Regions from separate parts of the Homo sapiens genome. Here regions 1, 2 and 3 are each linked to region 4. Evidence: promoter capture Hi-C in 16 types of primary human blood cells and fetal thymus (Javierre and others, 2016). All regions are on one chromosome and are shown on one strand. The core of a region is centred on a gene start or on the middle of the fragment in contact, and the rest is flanking DNA. Distances in the headings are between cores, read along the strand shown. Region 1 overlaps LSM11 (LSM11, U7 small nuclear RNA associated). Region 2 has its middle 11 kb from the start of THG1L. Region 3 overlaps CYFIP2 (cytoplasmic FMR1 interacting protein 2). Region 4 holds the start of ADAM19 (ADAM metallopeptidase domain 19).

Region 1 (3,092 bases), core at 15-2,514, 170 kb after region 4:
AGGAATAGTCTCAGATGATTTCTGCACCACACTGCTGTGTGTGTGTGTGTGTGTGTGTGTGTGTGTGTGTTTAGGCCAGTTTGACATAGCATCACAATAGGGAAGACACTGATGTGCCTTTGCCGGGTCACTGATTCAAACATTGTACTTTCAATCTGTCATGGCACCCTTCTATAGAATGGCAACTAAAACTATTTTCAGAGAAAAGAGAAAATATTTTTCCATTGCAGACTCATAAGGTGACTGTTACAGTTTGTGGTTTCATTTCTCTGGGCCCTTAATAGGTTATGGAATCTGGGGAGCTGCCTTTGCCCTAATGAGCTAATAACTTTGTATATTTGGAGATATATATGTAGATACAGTTTTGTCCTTAAATCTTTGAATAGGTAGTTGTGGAGGCTAAAGCAACTCCATCTTGAATGCCAGTCCACCATGTTGACTTCTGATTAAACCCAGTTCTGGGAAGGCCTCTAAGATTTCCAATTTATCTGTTGTTTCTTGTGTAAGAGCATGTACTTACTGTAATTCCTGTCCTTACATGAGAACAACCTTGACGTTATCTTACTTCAATTGTCCTACACATCCCTTCTGAATCACCCTTTCCCTGTAGCATATAAGCCCTGCATCTGGGGGTCATGGCACGGGGATCCACCATCTTGTTTTGCCGCCACCTGAGACGCAGACGTGGCTTCTGTTCCTACATTCCTATTAAATATTTCTTTCTAAGGAAAACAAGAGTTACTGTAAGAGGCAAGTTTTAGGTCTTTAAAGAAGGGCATGATTGAGAACAGTTATTTTAAAATCAGGCTGTGATGGTATAATTTACATGTAGCAGGAGAAGGAAGAGTGGAGCTGAAAATGACCTGGATCTGGAAGGATGTGGCAATAGAGAAGGGGATTGGAAGAGTAACTTTCTCCAAAGATAAGGCATATGCTTTTTTGTCATATTTGGTCATAGAAACCTGACTCATATCCATTTGGAGCTTGCCACAGAGACGGCTGGAAAGAGAATGTGCACTCTGATTCAGAATGGGGAGCTCATTTTTGCCTTGGCGGTTTGCTCTGATAGGTGGTGCTAGTGTCGTACTTTTGATCACACAAGGATACAAGGAGAGCAATGCTTCCTGGAATTACACCTTATTAAATCTTTGGAAGAAAAAAATTAAAGGTACACGTTTGAGAAAGACCAATTGAAAGACCTGAATTTGCCATCTATTTAATTAGAGTAAGAGACTGTTGCTAAGATACCTGCTTGCCCTTTCTATTTTTGGAGGTGTGGGAAAGAAGTAATGTCCCTGTTTTTTTCCAAGTTAGAAAAAAATAGTCTTTCCACTCTTTGTATAAACATACATCATAGGGCAGGGGGCAGTATATATGTATGTGTAGGAAAAGAAATAATGCAAGCATGTGATCAGTTTCTAAGAAATTGAGTTATTGGGACTTAGTCCTGAAATAAATCTACAAGTTAACTATCTTAACCTCATTTTATGAATGAGGAAATTTGGAACTTAAAGAAAAAGTTATTCATCAGGTTCACACAACTAGTTATAATGACCTGAAAATTGTTTACAATGCTTGAATGCTTGATTTAATATGGCCTATAACACATATACACGCGCGCGCACGCGCGCACACACACACACACACACCCACACACCCATACACACCCTTAGCTAGCAAATGTACAAAGGACTTTAAAATACTGCTAGAAGAGAGGTAAATGATGATGGTCAGACCAGAATTCTCATGGTCTTTTCCAAAGTCACTGCTTCGTGTCGCTTCCAACTCCGAGTTATTCTCACACCGTTAATCTGACATAAACTCCTGCTAGTCTGCTAAGTCATTTTCTTCTAAGAATCTTTTATTAATTTATCACAGCCATCATTTATAAGCCAATCCATGACAGAGGGATAAGGTGGCTTCAGGAGGAACCAATTTAGTTATCCAAACTGAAGTGCAGGACTGTTGTTCTCCTTTATGTCACTAGAAACAAAGCAGGAGAGATTTTTCATTTGTCTACTGTCAATGCCAAATACTCTATATATCCAGACTTCTAAGACCTGACCAAAAATAAACTTTCTACAGAATTTTGCGTTGCAAACTTGGGAAAGAGTGAGACTGTGTACGCACGAGAAAGAGAGAGAGATTGGGGGTGCGTAGTGCGTGCCTGTAGTCCCAGCTACTCAGTGGGTTGAGCTAGGGGGATCGCTTGAGCCAGGGAGGTCAAGGCTGGAGTGAGCTGTGATTGTGCCACTGCACTCCAGCCTGGGTGACAGTGAGACCCTGTCTCAGGAAAAAAGAATGTGTACGGCTTTCTTTTGGGAGGTTTTATATACCATAGCCAGCATATTGTGAGAGCTGAGTTAACATGAAATAATAAAAATAAAATTCATCTTTCCTCCCACGCTCTGAGAATCCTTCATAATAAAAGCTGAAATTTATAGTCTCAATATTCTTCCTATGAGTCATTATCCTGCTCTCTTCACATGATGCTTATTAGTAGTGTCATAGGAGCCAGATACTCAGCCAGGTGCCTTTTACACTGTCAGGGCTTGGGCCAGAACCAGTGCTTTTCCTCCCAGAAACACCAGTGAGTCCAGAAAGCTTGTGCATGGAGTAGCTTTGGTGGGGTCAAAGGCCTTTCTTTCTGACAGGATTGTACATGTTTAAGGGCAGAGTGCAGTTTGTTTCCTTTGAACATGTAAACAAGGTTTTTGTTTTTTTGGAAGACTCAAGCTGGATATGTGATTCATGAATTGTCTTAAGGCACAGAATTGAGAAGGATCTCGCTGTTAATGTATACATTTAATGTTTGCGTGCCCGTGTGTGTGTGTGTTTCTCAAGATGGAGTCTTGCTCTGTTGCCCAGGCTGGAGTGCAATGGTGCGATCTCGGCTCACTGCAACTTCCACCTCCTGGGTTCAAGCCATTCTCCTGCCTCAGCCTCCTGAGTAGCTGAGATTACAGGCATGGGCCACCATGCCTGGCTAATTTTTGTATTTTTAGTGGAGATGGGGTTTCACCATGTTGGCCAGGCTGATCTCAAACTCCTGACCTCAGGTGATCCGCCCACCTCAGCATCCCAAAGTGCTG
Region 2 (3,038 bases), core at 439-2,938, 140 kb after region 4:
CCGCACTGGGCCTGGAAAATACATTTTTAAAAATCATGAATTCAGGGCCGGGCATAGTGGCTCACACCTGTAATCCCAGCGCTTTGGCATGCGGATAGCTTGAGCCCACAAGTTGGAGACCGGCCTGGTTAACATGGGGAAACCCTGTTTTTTCTTTCTTTCTTTTTTTTTTTTTTGCTTTTAAGGAGCGGAGAGTTTAATAGGTAAGAAGGAAGGGAGAAGACAGAAGAAAGAAGCTCCCCCATACAGAGACACAGGGATGGGGGCTCCAAAGCTGAAAGAGGAGGTCCCCACCTGGCAGGGACACCAGCCAGGTATATATGCAGAGGCTGGAGGTGGTGTTTGATTTGCACAGGGCTCAAGGGATTGGTTTGACTAGGCATGACATTCACGTAGCCTGTAAAAAAGCTGACCCTCCCACCCTAGCCTTTTAATATGCAAATGTAGGGCGCCATGATGTTCTACACTCCTGGGGATATTTGGAGGTGGCCATGTTGCCAGGAACATGTGGGGAAAGGGCAGGAAGGCCACAGGAATCTCCATGTTTGGGTGGGCCCACTTTCTAATGGTCAGTATTTGCATATCAAAGGTTGGTGGGCTGCTGCTAAGAGCCAGGGATTTAAGAGAAACTTTTCCAGAGATGCTTTAAAAAACAAAAGCTTCCCTTGGCCAGGCACGGTGGCTCACGCCTGTAATCCCAGCACTTTGGGAAGCCGAGGCGGGAGGATCACGAGGTCAGGAGATAGAGACCATCCTGGCTAACACAGTGAAACCCCGTCTTTACTAAAAATACAAAAAAAAAAAAAAAAAATTAGCCGGGTGTGGTGGTGGGCACCCGTAGTCCCAGCTACTCAGGAGGCTGGGCCAGGAGAATGGGGTGAACCTGAGAGGCGGAGCTTGCAGTGAGCCGAGATTGCGCCACTGCACTCCAGCCTGGGCAACAGAGTGAGACTCTGTCTCAAAAAAAAAAGAAAAAAAGAAAACTTCCCAAGGACCTCTCTTCCTACAACATTCCCCGCTATGGAGATGCCACACTAACTGCTGTTAGAGGGTTTTGGGTTATGGTTCTTTCTGGCTACTTTCTGCTGAAAAGGGGAGTCACATGGGGGAACAGCAGCTAGGGCTCCTCCTGGGGTGGATCTAAGGGTCCTCAGAAGAATGGCATCTCCATGTGTGTTTCAGTTTACAGCACCGTTTGGAGTTTGATTGCTTCTAGGTGAGAAGAAACAATTTGAGTTATAGTATTGAGTATATAGGCTCCAAATATCAATACAAGACATATAAGCAAGAGAGTGCTTAAAAAAGGGGTTAACCAATTCCATAAAGAAGACTGGAATTTATTAAAAAGGGATTGTAGCCACTCAGAGCTGAAGCTGTCATTTTTCCTGAGCCTGTCAATAATTATGATTTGATTTTTTTTTTTTCTGAGATGGAGTTTTGCTGTTGTTGCCCAGGCTGGAGTGCAATGGTGTGATCTCGGCTCACTGCAATCTACGCCTCCCGAGTTCAAACAATTCTCCTGCCTCAGCCTCCTGAGTAGCTGGGATTACAGGTGCGTGCCACCATGCCCGGCTAATTTTTTGTACTTTTAGTAGAAACAGGAATTCACCATGTTGGCCAGGCTGGTCTCGAACTCCTGACCTCAGGTCATCTGCCTGCCTCAGCCTCCCAAAGTGCTGGGATTACAGGCATGAGCTGCCATGCCCAGCTGATTTGATTTTTAAGTACCTGTAGATTTTCCTCTACTTTACTAGCGGTGTTAATCCAAAAGCAGCATGTTTCATTTAAAACTGCATTACTAAACCCCAAAAAAGGCCTAGCAGACTCAGTGATGGTAAAACTTTCATGCTTCCTTTTTGTCAACTATTATCCCTGCTATAAAGATAATAATTAAGCAAAATACTACAGCAATGGAAACTCTCTGTCCAATATTTCAGTTTAAAGATGCTACCATGGGAGGTCTGTTCCAAGATGGCTGAATAGGAACAGCTCTGGTCTGCAGCTCCCAGTGTGATTGACGCAGAAGACGAGTGATTTCCCACTAAGGTACCTGGTTCATCTCTTTGGGACTGGTTGGACAGTGGGTGCAGCCTACAGAGGGAGAGCCGAAGCAGGGTGGGGCGTCACCTCACATGGGAAGCAGAAGGGGTCAGGGGATTTCCCTTTCCTAGCCAAGGGAAGTCATGATAGACTGTACCTGGAAAAACAGGACACTCCCGCCCAAATACTGGGCTCTTCCCATGGTCTTAGCAGCTGGCAGACCAGGAGATTCTCTCCCGTGCCTGGCTCAGTGGGTCCCACCCCCATGGAGCCTTGCTCACTGCTAGCGCAGCAGTCTGAGATCCACCTGCCAGGCTGGAGCCTGGTGCAGGGAGGGGCGTCCGCTATTGCTGAGGCTTGAGTAGGTAAACAAAGTGGCCTGGATGCTCGAACTGGGTGGAGCCCACCACAGCTCAGCAAGGCCTACTGCCTCTATAGAACTCCACCTCTGTGGGCTGGGCATAGCTGAAAAAAAGGCAGCAGAAAATTCTTCAGACTTAAACATCCCTGTCTGACAGCTCTGAAGAGAGCAGTGGTTCTCCCAGCACAGTGTTTGAGTTCTGAGAACAGACAGACTGCCTCCTTGAATGGGTCCATGACGCCCATGTAGCCTAACTGGGAGACACCTCCCAGTAGGGGTCGACAGACTACTCATACAGGTGGGTGACCCTCTGGGACGAAGCTTCCAGAGGAAGGATCAGGCAGCAATATTTGCTGTTCTGTAATATTTGCTGTTCTGCAGCCTCCACTGGTGATATCCAGGCAAACAGGGTCTGGAGTGGCCCTCCAGCAAACTCCAACAGACCTACAGCTGAGGGACCTAACTGTTAGAAGGAAAACTAACAAACAGAAAGGAATAACATCAACATCAACAAAAAGGACATCCACACCAAAAACCCCATCTGTAGATCACCAACATCAAAGACCAAAGGTAGATAAAACCACAAAGATGGGGAGAAACCAGAGCAGAAAAGCTGAAAATTCTAAAACCAGAGTGC
Region 3 (3,139 bases), core at 173-2,672, 200 kb before region 4:
CCGAGTAGCTGGGATAACAGGCACCTGCCACCATGCCTGGATAATTTTTGTATTTTTAGTAGAGACCAGGTTTCACCCTGTTGGCCAGGCTGGTCTTGAACTCCTGACCTCGTGATCCATGCGCCTCAGCCTCCCAAAGTGCTGGGATTACAGGCATGAGCTACCACACCTGGCCAGACCCAGATGTTTTAAAAGCTCCACACTTGACTCTGATGTGCAGTCAGAGTGGAGGATCTCTGATCTAGAAGCATTTTCTTGGACTAGAGCTGCCAGAGTCTTGACATTGATGCTTAGTTGTCACAGTTCTTGCCACATCTGCAGATCACTGATTCTGTTATTTACATAATCTTTTTACTGAAACTTAATTTTAAAAGGAAACTATCACTTCCATTTAAAAAAATCATCCCTTGCCATCATTAGAAAGCAACCAGAATAATACATTCAATCAATCAAAATACAGCAAAGTCATATAATTCCAGCTGCTGCCTGCCCAGATCTCTGAACACAAGCCCTACTCCCTCTTTGATAAAAACAAGATTAGTAAATATTAGGTGCTAACATGTGCTGGTTTCAAATGGAGACTTTCTCATTAAGGTTGTCAGAAAGATTGATAGGAAACTGAAAAAGGAAAGAACTTGCTCACTGTGTGGCTCACTATGATTAAATCACATTTCCTTGTATGCCCAATTTCCACTTTAGGAAATGCTAACCTTGGAAGACATTGGCATATACTTGAGGGAAGAGAAAGCCCACTTTCTAGGCCACAGTTTCCTGGCTATAGATCTTTTCCAGTTGACCAGACATGATTCTGATCCAGAATAATAATTCTATTATCCCCTTGACAATTCAGGGGACGGAGGAAGGGGTTGGAAGTGAAACATAGTAATATACAGCACTATTCAAGCAAGGCATAGATTGACAGGAAAAGATCACACACAGAATCAGGTAAGATTAAATTACTGATAGATTTAGCAAGGGCTATGAAGAGCTGCTGGAAGTGAGGGACCAGTGGAACAGGAGCAGAGACAGCGTCTCTCGGTTGGGCTTTCCACTGCACCTGGAGTCCCAAATGAGGGCTGGAAGCTGTGGCTTGTACATTCTGTGCAAGGGGAGAGGGTCATGGTGCAAGTGGGAAGCCTAATTTCTTGCCTGCTTCACAGGCTCTGTATCCTCGGGGCTTAACATCAGTATGCGGGAAACACATTATGTGCCTCCATATAAGGGAATGTTTAGAACACTAAGCTCTCTGGTTAGGGCCCAGCTCCCCGTCCCCCTCCTGCCAGAAAATCCAAGCAGCGATCCCTGTGGGGTGCCTGGACCTCCCATTTCCAGCTCCTTTCTCCATACAAAAACATAATGCATTAGTGTTATTTGTCTTTTTGTTGCCTCAAAAATCAGAGTTAAAGGTTAAGAAAATACTGGTTTGATGATGCTCTTTAGGAAATCAGCTAAAAATGGTAGTTTTTCACTCAGCTGTGAACAGAACCCTAAAGGTAGAGTCTAATGCCATTCTGCATAAATCTGGCATTCTTAGGATCATATTGAATCTTTTTAAAATATGTACGCGGAATCTTTATGGTAGCCTGTAGCCAAGAGAAATCAAGTCTCCAGTTAGCCTCATAGACTAAGTGAGTTGGGAACACTTAAGGTTTTTGATATTTGATGGAATCCCTCAGTTTTAAAACTAGTGGTCCATCAGTTTTAAATTAACTATAATATGAAAAGAAAATTAAATTAAGACAGAAAGTAATGCAAAAATAAAACATGAATCCCTTAAATTCTGATGTGAGTTCCTTACAGTAAAATATTTTTGCATCCTGACCCTAAAAACCTTTTTTGCTTTTACTGTCAACACAGCAATTTTACAGTAGACAGACTGTGGTTCTTAATCACCTAATGATTATTTCTCTTGTAGTTATCATATAGTGGGAATAATAAACATTAGCGTGACACTTGGTACATGCAAAACTACTGAATCATAACTTTTACTCATTAACTCCTCCCAGAGAGAAACTTCTGCAGAAGCACAAGCTCCTGGGAGTTCTCCAAGGAGGGATCGTTGAAGTTCGTTGTTTTTGTATAACAATTGCATATTATTCACACTTTGGAAAACTCATCATGGTTAGATCCTGGTTCCACAAAAAAGCTATAAAAGAAACATTTTAAGAACAATTGAGGAAATTTTAGTCTAGACTACATCGTGTATCATATTAAGAAAATTTTAAATATAGGGGAATCACAATTCTGAGGTTGCACAGGAGGATGTCCTTGTTTTTAGGAGTTGCATGCTTAGGTATTTAAGGCTGAAGTGACTCAATGTCTTCCATTTACTCTCAAATGACTCAGTAAAGTTAAAGCAAATATGACAAAATGTTCATTTTGACTGTACATCAAGGTTATAAGGATATTCATTATTCCTTCAAATATTTTATGTGTTTAGAATTTTTCCTAATATGAAGTTGAAGCGGGGGACATAAAACTTCAACAGGGGATCAAAAAGTTAAGAAGGAAAGGGGTTAAACCAGACAAGGTTGTGACATATGAGGAGGAGGAAAGTCATGAGGGTTTTTGTCTTTTCCAGCTACCCTGCTAGTTGGTAAGATCTATTCTTGGTAACATATATCCCGGAGCTACATCTGGCCTCATTAAAAAAATTTATAGACGCATTTGCTAGCATCGAACTTGGCTGTGACTTACAGGCTGACCACCTATTTGATTTACCATGAGGAAATACCAGTTTAAGATCCAAGAAAGACAAATGAAGCCAGGGAAGCTGGCCGGTCCAAATTAGAGGCCAGTGAGAGACCCTTAGAGAACACCTCTGGCAGCCACCCTCCTCCCATTGGCCGTGGTGGGAAGGCTTACCTTCTGCTTCAGGAATACTAACAGAGAAACACACACACACACAAATACACACACAAAGAATGCCTTCTCCCTATGCTCTGTTTAAGAGAAATGTCTCAAACCCAGCTCCACTGAGGGTCACTGCCTTTCCACGCTTGAGCCGAGAGAGGGTCATGCCTTAACATTAACAGCAAAGGGGTCTTCATACATTATAAATTTTATACTCTCCAGCTTAAAACTAACAGGTGGATTCTTGTTATACTTAAAATTCAAACTCCCAACTTTGACCCACAAG
Region 4 (2,979 bases), core at 446-2,945:
AAAACGCAAGACACGAAACTGTACTTATGGGTATGGTTCCAATTTTATCAATATATATCCATAGGAACACACAAAGAATGTGGAGGGGAAAAAAAACAAAATATCAACAGCAACTGTGGATTTGGGGGTTGCAGATCATTTTCTTTTACACTTTTCGTTATTTCCCAGATATTCTACAGCAAGTGTTCTCCAAGGACTCAAAACTCAGAGAAGGCGCCTGTGCTAGGAGCAGTAACTAGCTTTCCTTGTCTTTCTTCATGCTTTTCTCCTGCACTAAGCACTGACACAGGCCTGGTGCTACCCTAGAACCTCCTCTGTGCCTCAGTTTCCCCTTCGGAACAACAGCTCAAAGGGCGGTTCCTTTGAGCCCTTTGGGAGGACCGCCCGACCTCGGCCCCTGGAAGTTCCGAACTGTCGGAAGAGCTCTCAGCCTCTGGGTTTGAGGCGGCCCGGGGGTCCAGCCAGCCCACCCTCGCTCCGCCGGTGCTCGCTCTATTTGAAAACGCTGACTGTTGGTCCCCCAAGCAGCAGTCTGGAGTCAGCCCAGCCCGTCTGCAGCGGTGGAGCCAGGGCTAAGCCTTCTCCGGTCATAATGAGAGAACCCGGGCACCGCCCCCCGGGACCAAGCCTTCCGCGAAATCTGCTTATAGCCCCCGAGGGATGGAGCCGGGGAGGGGATTGGTGTCTGGGAAACTAGTCCTGAGAAACACGGACATCACCCGGCATCTTAGCTGGAAACATCGAGTCAGACCCCTTCGCTTCACAGAAGGGGAAACTGAGGACCAAAGAAGGCGGCCGTCGGGTTGGCGTGGAAAGAGAGCCCTGGTTTCCAGTGCCACCGCGGACCTCAACCCGTGGCGTGGCCTTGGGCAAGTCCTTTCCCTTTTGTGGGCCTCGGTTTCCCCATCTGTGAAATGGGTGCGTTTGACTTGGCCTTCAGTAGGGCTCCTGCCAGCTCGGGGATCCGAAGTGTGTGGCTGCAGATACCCAGCGAGCCATCCCCTAGCCAAGGCTACCACAGTCTGCCGCGGGCATTTTATGTCCTACCCCACCAGTGTGGCAGGCACCGAGCCTGGTCCCAGGAAGCCGCTCCCAGGCCACACGGGCAGGGCGCTCGGGATGCTCGGCGTTGGCGAGTGCAGCGGGCGGTAGAGAGAAAGACAGAGAGAGAGGCGGAGCGGACACGAGGGACCGTGAGAAAACGGAGGAGGATAAGCCCCGAGAACGGCGGAAAGAGAAGCCAAAAGCAGAAAAACAGAGGAAGGAGAAGGCGAGAAGGGAAGGCTAGCCAGTGAGCGGACCGGCTGTTTTCTGGCTGCGCCGGGTTTCCCCGACCTCTGCCACCTCCCAGGGCGCAGAACGTGGGAACAAAGCCCGGGCTCCCAGGCTGGGGACGGCGGGGGCGCAGGCCCCGCGGAGTTGCGGGAGGCGCAGGGGTCGCGGTCCCAGCGCTCCGGACCCGCAAGGCTACTCCCAGGTCTCCGGGCCACCCAGCCTCCATCCCCCCGCGCCTGGCCACTTACTTGTCCATCCAGGCTCCCGCGCCGCCCGCGGCCGGAGGGGCTGCAGGGCAAACGCCAGCAAGCAGAGCCGGGCGGCGCCTGCGCCCCCTGGCATGGTGGCGGCGGCCCTTAGCGCTCGGCGCTCACACGCCCTCAGCCATACCTGCCCACTGCCCGGCGGTGGAGGCGCGTCTGGAACCCCCCGGCTCGCCCCGCGCCTCCCCACCCGGCTCCCAGCCCTCTGCCGAGACGCTCCGCCTCCAGCCCCGCGGGCCTCCGCCAGGGGATGGAGGAGGGGAGGCTCCAGCCCGGAGGGGGCTGGAGGGAGGGGCCGGGGAGGAGCTGGCGAGACTCGGGGGAGCGGGGCTGGCTCAGGTGAGGGAGACCGCGGGGAAGGGAGAATCCGAGCCCCCCAGGAGGAGGGATTTGTGGTGGACGCGGCCTGTAGAGGGTCGGGGACTCGGGCTTCTAGGAGTTAAACTGGACCCCTCTCCGCACAGCGGCCCGTTTACTGTCCCGCACTGTGCCAGACGCCTTGGGTGACACTCAGAGGTGATTCACCCAGCGCCGTCCCCCGGGGGCCGCCACTCTCGGAGACAGGCTCAGAAAGAGTTAACCCAACCGCCAGGCACAAAGAACTAAGTGCTATATGGACTTCTTTTTTTTTTTTTTTTTTTTTTTTTTTTTTTTTTTTTAAGCAGGACACAAATCCAGGAGCCATTCCTTCTGCCTGGGAGGAGGGAGTGATGAAGACCAGAGGAATCCCAGAGGAGAAGCCATCTGAGATCGGGAGGAGGAGAAATGGAACATCAGGCGGAGGAAACAGCCCAGACAATCGCACTGGGACGTGAAAACCCTTGGGCTGCATGCGGGGAGAAAACCAGAATTGGGGATGGTTAGGGTTTTGGAGGGAAACACAGGGACATGTGACCAAAAATAATAATAACTACTGTTACTTATTGAGGACTTTCTATGTACTAGAATAAGAAAATCATGATAGCTAAGACTGATAAAACGCTAAGTGTCAAACGCTGTCTTCAGCACTTTACACATATTCACTTATTTAATTAATCGGAGAAAATAACTTTTATGAGCCAGGGACTCTGCATACATTATCTCTTTTCATTAGCCCAGTAATCCCATGGGGTAGGTACTAGTACTATCCCTGTTTTAGAAATGAGGAAATCAAACCTGAGAGGCTAAACCACTTGCCCAAGATTACACAGCTAATGTCAGTGCCTAGATTCAAACCCACATCCGTATAACTCCAGAGCCTGATGCAACACACCTTATTTTCCAGGTGGAGAAACTGATAATGAGAGAGAAATGACTTGCCTAAGATCCCTCAGCAAGTTTTAGCAAAGCCTCGTTGTAGAATCCCAGCCTCAAACCTCGTCCATCTGTTCCTTTTTCTGAGCCTCTTTAGTCAAACCCAGGTTGACTAGAGAAGTGCTAAGTGTTGGAGAGGGCGAGGCAC

What was found. Contacts are between HindIII fragments. The CHiCAGO score rates a contact against its expected background, and 5 or more counts as called.
Region 1: a contact is called between a fragment that was not itself captured here and the fragment with the promoter of ADAM19 in region 4, in 1 of 17 cell types (neutrophils). The highest score is 7.2, in neutrophils.
Region 2: a contact is called between a fragment that was not itself captured here and the fragment with the promoter of ADAM19 in region 4, in 1 of 17 cell types (activated CD4 T cells). The highest score is 5.8, in activated CD4 T cells.
Region 3: a contact is called between a fragment that was not itself captured here and the fragment with the promoter of ADAM19 in region 4, in 1 of 17 cell types (endothelial precursors). The highest score is 5.9, in endothelial precursors.

What each region holds. Positions count from the first base shown.
Region 1 is chr5:157,747,959-157,751,050 of GRCh38, forward strand. The region is part of intron 1 of LSM11 (LSM11, U7 small nuclear RNA associated); the gene reads left to right. Among named protein-coding and RNA genes, the nearest start is that of LSM11, 5.8 kb to the left of the region's middle. The HindIII fragment of the contact is 2,676 bases long and covers 1-2,602 here.
Region 2 is chr5:157,718,991-157,722,028 of GRCh38, forward strand. No RefSeq gene overlaps it. Among named protein-coding and RNA genes, the nearest start is that of THG1L, 11 kb to the right of the region's middle. The HindIII fragment of the contact is 2,063 bases long and covers 658-2,720 here.
Region 3 is chr5:157,370,004-157,373,142 of GRCh38, forward strand. The region is part of intron 26 of CYFIP2 (cytoplasmic FMR1 interacting protein 2); the gene reads left to right. All of the region lies in intron 1 of NIPAL4-DT (NIPAL4 divergent transcript), which reads right to left. Among named protein-coding and RNA genes, the nearest start is that of FNDC9, 26 kb to the left of the region's middle. The HindIII fragment of the contact is 4,441 bases long and covers 1-3,139 here.
Region 4 is chr5:157,574,080-157,577,058 of GRCh38, forward strand. It overlaps ADAM19 (ADAM metallopeptidase domain 19), which reads right to left and starts at 1,696. Exons shown (of 23, transcript NM_033274.5): 1 at 1,524-1,696. The coding sequence starts at 1,617. It overlaps LOC124901121 (a long non-coding RNA gene), which reads left to right and starts at 900. Exons shown (of 2, transcript XR_007059018.1): 1 at 900-1,291; 2 at 2,201-2,531. RefSeq lists enhancers at 392-921, 1,158-1,237 and a silencer at 1,408-1,847. The HindIII fragment of the contact is 8,826 bases long and covers 1-2,979 here.